Linked DNA regions of Homo sapiens: region 2 is linked to region 1. The links are contacts of gene promoters, found by promoter capture Hi-C in blood cells and fetal thymus (Javierre and others, 2016). All regions are on one chromosome and are shown on one strand. Each heading gives the region's core, a stretch centred on a gene start or on the middle of the fragment in contact. The rest is flanking DNA. Distances are from core to core; before and after follow the strand shown. Region 1 holds the start of PMAIP1 (phorbol-12-myristate-13-acetate-induced protein 1). Region 2 has its middle 190 kb from the start of MC4R.

Evidence for each region. Contacts are between HindIII fragments. The CHiCAGO score rates a contact against its expected background, and 5 or more counts as called.
Region 2: a fragment that was not itself captured here is called in contact with the fragment with the promoter of PMAIP1 in region 1 in 1 of 17 cell types (M0 macrophages); the score reaches 6.7 in M0 macrophages.

Annotation. Positions count from the first base shown.
Region 1 is chr18:59,898,214-59,902,234 of GRCh38, forward strand. PMAIP1 (phorbol-12-myristate-13-acetate-induced protein 1) reads left to right here and starts at 1,783. Exons shown (of 2, transcript NM_021127.3): 1 at 1,783-2,022. The coding sequence starts at 1,965. RefSeq lists an enhancer at 872-1,623 and silencers at 1,380-1,789, 1,940-2,149. The HindIII fragment of the contact is 10,069 bases long and covers 1-2,871 here.
Region 2 is chr18:60,559,450-60,563,251 of GRCh38, forward strand. No RefSeq gene overlaps it. Among named protein-coding and RNA genes, the nearest start is that of MC4R, 190 kb to the left of the region's middle. The HindIII fragment of the contact is 779 bases long and covers 1,629-2,407 here.

The sequences.
Region 1 (4,021 bases), core at 533-3,032:
CTTGCTGGTTTGTGTTGACTGAATGATTTAAGATAAATAAACAACCTCAAATGCCTACTGAGGCCAGATAATGTAAATGGGAAAAGCAAACAGCGGGGAGTGTGGTGAACAGGAGCACCCTAGGTTCCTCTAAAGGGTGTGGCTTCGACCACACTTCAAACCTAGTTTGCACTTTTGGAAAATGGATCCCACGTTGTCAGAGATTCTGGTTTTCCAAGAGATGCTGGAATCTGGGTTTTTCATGCAATCCCTCAATGTTTAAAATGTTGGTAATCAATTCAAATTTTTACAATACATTTTGAAGGCCAATACTGTAAACCAAACTAAGCACTTCTAGGGAGCCCATGCAACGAATTTGCAATCTTTTCATTAAACAGCACAGCTAATATGAAAACACGCTTTTTTTTTCTTTTTCTTTTTTGAGACAGAGTCTTATTCCGTCACCCAGGCTGGAATGCAGTGGCGCGATCTCGGCTCACTGCAACCTCCGCCTCCCAGGTTCAAGCGATTCTCGTGCCTCAGCCGCCCAAGCAACTGGGACGACAGGCGTGCACCACCAAGGCCGGCTAATCTTTTGTATTTCAGTAGAGACGGGGTTTCACCATATTGGCAAGGCTGGTCTCGAACTCCTGGCCTCAAACGAACCACCCGCCTCGGCCTCCCAAAGAGCTGGGATTACAGGCGTGAGCCACCGCGTTCGGCGAAAACACACATTTTCTAAGAAACTGATTGCTGGGAAGGCTACAGTGGGTAAGAGCTCTTGCTCTCTGTGGGCCTGCCTGGTTCGGAATCAGGGCAGTGCTCTCTGCCTAAGTGAACTTGGGCAATTTTCTACAAACCTCAGTTTCTGCACCCGTAAAGTAGCAACGGTTGTTCTGAGGACGGAATGAGAAAATGCATGTCAAAGTCCTTAGCATGAAGCGGCTCTCAGTAACCGTTAACCACTCCTAATTACTCCTCTTCATAATAGTAGAATTACTCATGGCCTCGCCAAACATTATGCAAATAATTTCACGTTCCCAGGTAGCTCAGCCCTCCCACAAAAGATTTGAACGTTTTCCATATGATAACGATCCACTCGTTTTTGCTAAACATCCACAATGGGCGATATCGACCTATCTGGAAGGACACACACAAATCCCTTCCCAACTCAAACACGATGTTCTTTCTGGCTGGCACCAGGGCTTCTGTTTGCAGTGACTTCCTGGGACCCGGAGCTTTCTCACAGGGCCTCTGGCATCTCCTCTGCGGTGATTAAGGTTCTTCTCATTTCCCTTCCCTGTTACTGCCCATACTCTTCAAGTTCGAAAAGTTTCCTTTTCCAATCTCTTTTCTGGGCTTGTTTACCCAAGTCTCTAATTGCCAAGGCCTCTGGTCTCTCCCCACCCACAACGTTCCTCCTGGTTAAACCCTTCCCCTCCCGCCACTCCCAGCTCCCGCCACTCCCAGCTCCCGCCACCACTGCCGCTGACGACGTCCAGCGTTTGCAGATGGTCAAAGCCGACCCCCTTCTCCTCCCACCTCGTTTTGTAAGGAAGTAATTTCGGGGCCGAGCGCTCTGCGCCCCCCGCCGCGGGTCGGCGCCGCCGCGGGTCGGGAGCGTGTCCGGGCAGGTCGCGCTCAGCGGGGTACTTCCCCGCCCGCGTCCCGCGTCCGCTCCCATAACGCCGTCTGCGGGGCGGGGACAGGGGCGGGGACAGGGGCGGGCCGGGCGTCTAGTTTCCCTACGTCACCAGGGAAGTTCTCACTGGACAAAAGCGTGGTCTCTGGCGCGGGGATCTCAGAGTTTCCCGGGCACTCACCGTGTGTAGTTGGCATCTCCGCGCGTCCGGACACCCGATCCCAGCATCCCTGCCTGCAGGACTGTTCGTGTTCAGCTCGCGTCCTGCAGCTGTCCGAGGTGCTCCAGTTGGAGGCTGAGGTTCCCGGGCTCTGTAGCTGAGTGGGCGGCGGCACCGGCGGAGATGCCTGGGAAGAAGGCGCGCAAGAACGCTCAACCGAGCCCCGCGCGGGCTCCAGCAGGTACCGACCCGCTGGGGCCAGCGAAGACCCAGGCCGGGCGGGGTCGGGGCCGGGGTCGAGGTCTCGGCTGGGGCGGGCTCAGCTCGCCGGGGCTCAAGCACAGACTGCACGGGGGTCAAGGTCGGGCCAGGTCTGTGCCCTGGCGCGAGCCTTAGGGGCGCCTCCAGAAAGTTCTTCGGGGTTTTTCCCCAGGACCGGCGGGTACGGCGGGTACGGCGAGGGACCAAGCCGGATTTGCGATTGGGATGCAGCTGCGTTTCACCAGGGGCAAAAAGCTCCTTTCCTCCTCTCTTTCCTCCTCGCCACTTGCCCTTCCCCGGGGCCACGAGGAACAAGTGCAAGTGTAGGCGGCTGTCTCTAGGAGAAAGTCATTGTCGCGGCAGAAGGGGCAGGAGAGAGCCCCGGGGACCGCCTGGACTCCCAGCGCTTCCAGAGACGGCCCCACAAGGGCCCCTGTGTTCAGGAGCCTAGAAAATCTTGTAACATTTAAATAATCGATATTGTGGGAGGTGGGGATAGGAGAATAGGAGTTAGTCCGCTCCTTTTTTTCATTCATTCATTCGCACTCCCCACCCCGATACATACAGCTCCATCGTAAGTTTTCAGGCCAGCGCCCCGGCCCCATGCTTTTTCTAAATCTAAACAGAGAACCCAGTCACTGCCCAGAGCCCGAAGTCTGTGTGGGCCATACTGCTGTTGCATCAGACGATTATACGCCCCCCCCACCTTTTAAGTTACTTTCATTTTATAGAGCTCCTGGGGCGTGCGAAGGAAGTGGTGCATTGCAAATGTGACCATGCCTAAGTTGGTAACAGGCTGCTGTCTCTGGCGCTTGTGTGGGATGGAAAAAGCTTTGTCTACCTTTTGTGATGTCTTAGGATTCTGACCTTGTTTCTTTCTGAAGGATCTTACTTATGCATAGCACTTTCTGGTCCGACTTAATTCCCAAGAACAGGAAGCAGCACAAAGTCCCTCTTAAACTTGATTTGATTGATACTAATACATTTATAGGTGTGTAATGCAATTTTTAAAAAATTAAGGAAATGACCGGGAAGTATTTTCTGCCTTGTTTTCTACATTTTTGGTGAAAGGGATAACTTTTCCACTTAGAATTCAGGGCTTCCAGTGTCGGACGCTGAATGGTATTTGGTTTTTCTTTTAGAACTGTATATTAATATATCTCAATCTCTGTAGACAACATGTCTATGTAAATACTTCCCAACATATTTGATCTTGTAGCCCATAAAGAATAACACCTTAAGGGATTTATTAGGTCTCTTGGTGTAGGAGTTAGGAAAGATTTCACTCACTTCTTGTAGAGAGAAATTGGTTGAAATATAGGTTTAAGATTTTGCTTTACTATATATTGACAGCTTTGATTTATTTTGAGCCTAAATACGGTATTTTCAGGGTCGATTTATAAAATAGACCAGATTTTAATTTGTAATCATGATTTTTTAATGTTTGTAATCATGAAGTGTACCCGAAAGACCTCAAGCTGCTCTTTGAAATATTCAAGAAAATTGAAATTATAGTCAGTATAGATACGATATTATAGTCAGTATAGTGTTAACTGCACTTACTGAAAAAAAGTGTACTTGGAAATTATAAGCATCATTTTTCTTAATATTCAGTTAGAATAACTCAATTCCAAAAAGTAGTAAACATGTGAATTAAACATTGCTTATTTTCTGCTCCTCTCATTTCCATAAAGGCAATGGATTGGTACATAATGGGGTTATAGGAAGAAGTGGGTTTACATTAAAATAGAAATGTTTAAATTATTTTAGAGAATGTGGACTTAATTTTAGAATAAGATTTTATGAGTCTTTTATGAAAAAATATCAGCGTTTTTTAACGAGAAAAAGAATACCTCTAGATTTGCCTATATAATGAGAGTATAACCTAAGCTGTAAATTATTGCCATTTGAAAATCAAATCCTACTTGAAAGCCACACAGAACTTGACTTCTGTTTCCCAGCCAACCTTAAATGAAGAG
Region 2 (3,802 bases), core at 768-3,267, 660 kb after region 1:
ATCAGAAAATTTCTAAGTAAAAGCAAATGGCCATTTACGAATACAGTCTGCAAAGTTATAGTACACAATGCTCATGCTTTACATTCTAACCCAAGAGAAACCTAAATTAAGCACCAGCATTTTAAATATATGTAGAAATTGAAGGCTTATAAAAATAGAATTGCAATCCTTTCATAAAAGCCAATAATTTATTCTATAGCTTTCTAAGATGATAAGAAAATTGTAACTATTCTCCAAAATAACTATAATCCATCATGTAGAAATGGAAAGTTTCAAAGAAAAGGTTGACCCAATATTTTCATCTTTGTAGAAAGAATGAAGTTATTTGGGTATCACAGAAACTAATGAGAAGGCAGATTCTGGTTCAAGAGAAAATGATTTATCATTTGATATCAATATTTCAGAATGGATACTCTATCTTTGATGGAATAATTAAATGAGATTCGATGTCATGACAAAATGTGTTCCCAACTTATTTATGTTAAAATAATTGCTAGAAAATTTTAAGTTGAAAACTTGCTGCATTGATGCAAGTGATCTAGCCAAATTATTCAAGGTTTCTCTGTTATCTTCTTTTGTTTAATTTCTTTTTTGGAGAGCAGACTTCAAAAGGTAATGGATTATAAAGGTAATTATAATTACAGAATAACAATGTCAATTATATCTTTCAACTGGAAGACACTCTATTTCCCTTCTATTTGTTAAATTTTACAAAAGAACAAACTTGTATAGCTCAAACAATACTTGAATGAACAGTAATTGAATTTCATGCCCCATCAGCCAGTCAAATTTAAGAATATTCCCCATTATTGTCACAGAGGACAAAGCATGGATTTCATTATATTCAACACAGAACAATGTCCTTTGGAGCTGCTGACCTTCTGAGCTTTGAGAGACTGAAAAAGGACAAATGCCTTTTACAATAAGTAAATCTTCTGATGTTTCATCTAACAAAAGCTGCTGGTAGAATTAAATCCGCCCCCCACCCCCGCCAGCATTCATCCTTCCCACACATAACACTAAAAACTAAAGGTAAATACCTGTATATTTCCAGCATTAACAGTAATATGCAGGTAAAACAGTAATGCTTTAACTCAACTCCTGTACCTTCCAGATATATATGTGTGGGCATGTGTGGGTGTGTGTGTGTGTGTGTGTGTGTGTGTGTGTGTGTGAGAGAGAGAGAGAGACAGAGACAGAGAGAGAGTGGTGAGAGGTCACATTAGCTTTAGTCCTCTTCTTCTGGGTTCACATAATAAGGGAAATACTTGCTTAGCCCTGACAAAGCCTGCTGGAGCAGAGGGCAGGAGCAAGTCAAGGTCAGAGAGCCATGAAGCCTCAGGAAGTGGGGAGCACTGACTGGAATTTACAGCCTGGATCCCTGTAGATAAAAGAAACCAATTTTAGTGACTATGCTCAAGGGAGTATTGCAAATGTCATGCCTCCCATGTTTAGCGAAGTTTCTGTAATTGAGCACTTACTTGTAAGACAGTAGGTGCAGCAGGCATGGTGGTCTTTAGGTTAGATGAATGCAGATAGCTCCAATCCACATTCTCACTACCACATCTCCATCTCAGTGCTCCAACAAGCTGTAGTCTCCATGATTTCCTCATAACTAAGAATTTCAAAGCTTTATACCCTTAGACCTATAGTCTCCTTTGCTTGGGATGCTTTCCCCAGTCTTTACAAGATAGCTTCAAAACCTAGTTAATTGTTTGTTCTTATAAAAGCACAAGTAAGTGCTCCCAAAAACAGAACTGGTCATTCTCTCTCTGTGCCCTTATGTATACTGTATATTTAATTTGTCCAGTGAAATCTCTGCATCAAGATACAACTTACTTCAAGACTGTTTTGAAAAGGAAATCTTTTCATTCTGATAGAGGCAATTTAAGTCTTAATTAGGTGTCATTTATAAAGTATTTCACACTGAGACCTTTCCAAACAAACAAAAAAATCATTTAAAATTTACTTTGTAGACTAAACTCTCAAGGACTTTGCAAAAAAACCCACTGTTCTTTGTAGTTTTGATTTCTCATATATGCAAATAGTTGTACAATTATGTAGCATTTGTTGTTGTTGCCCGGTTGATTGCTTTAGACTCCAATTATCATTCTATATTCGTATCCTCTCCTCTCAGAATCTGGAATCTATTGCTGCTGTGCCTTATGGTATTTATCTTGGATGTGTATTGTGTTTTTCCAAAATGCTTATAGCTAAGTACATATATTTCTTTTATTTGAAGACTTTGTTTTGTAAAACATTTCTCTCAGATATCACCTATGTTCCCTAGGTCTTTGCATTCTTTTAAGATTTTAAAGGTAGCTATGTTTGTTACCAACTGCGAAGGGCCTAGCTTTGTTATGAACATATCTATTTAAAAGGAATGAATTTTTGAAGTCATATAAGAAGCTTGATGCTGTTTATTTTGTCCATGCTGAAAAGTTAGAAGAAACAAATATTTGTAAGACTGACAAAGCCAACATATAGGGAAAGAAAACAATATAAATGTTTTGAGGACATTATTAGTTGAACACTCTCCTGAGATTTACTTTTAGAAAGCTTATTCACATCAATCAGAAGTCAGAAATTTCAATTAAGGAAATGTGGAAAGCAGATTTTATTCATTCATAATTTTTTATTTGGATTTTAGTATATTTAAATGTAACAACAAGTACCAAAATACTGCTATTTATTGATCATTTTAATTATTATTGAAAGATATTTATTTTGAAGTCTGGTGGAAGATATGATAAGTCCTGAGGGCAATTAAAGATAGAAAGTATAAAATATGATATAAAGAAATGATGAAATGGATGTGTCTTTGTAAAACAGAGGCACATTTTCAGTTATATAACAAATTAAGCTCATTAATGTATCACCACATATATGTTACCTGTTAATTAGCTGTTATTTTTATACCATAATTAAAATCCCCCAAATAGATAATATACCTATTTCCCACCATATATGGGCATAGAGAAGAAAGTACTATTTAATTTGATGTGAAATGCTGTCTTTAGGAAATTATTGTAAATGTAAGCATGAATATAGGATAAGCACTAAGGTGCTCTTTCTAGTAAAACTGAGATGTCTTGGATGAGGGAAGTCCCTTAGATCTGCTGATAAATGTGTCTCTTAAGTAGCTGCAGGAGAGGCTAATGGCTCCCCTAGACTCTTAGCTTACCCTCCAGTTTCAGTGAGGCCCATGTTCAAGATACCTGGTTCAAGTGTGGAAGTGATGTCTGCCACCTCAGGCACCAGCATGAGACCCCTACGTGTTCACTCATTCCTCCTCTTCCCTTTCTGCAGCATTGTGGGGCCTGCATGCCAAAGGCAGTGGGTTCACAAGTTGGACTGAATTTGGATCACTAATTCATTTTGGAGGAAAGTTGCCCAGGAGGCTGCCAAAATTCCCCCCACTGCATGCCTTTTTTTGAGTCAGGGTCTTGCTCTGTCACCCAGGCTGGAGTGGTATGGTGCAATTATAGATCACTGTGGCCTCAAAATCGTGGGCTTAAAAATCCCTCCCACATCTGCAACCCATCCTCTATGTCTCCCAACTGTCCTACTCCTGCCCCAGTAGCTGAGACTGCAGGTGAGCCCCCGCATACCTAGTTGGTTTAAATTTTTTCTTTTGTAGAGATGAGTCTCCCTAAATTGCCCAGGTTGGTCTTGAAATCCTGGGCTCTAGTGATCCCTCCACCTCAGCCTCCCAAAGTGTTGGGATTACAGGCCTGAATCACTGCACCTGGCCTTCACTGAGTTTTGGTGACAGTGAGAAATAAACCTCTGTTTTGTTAAG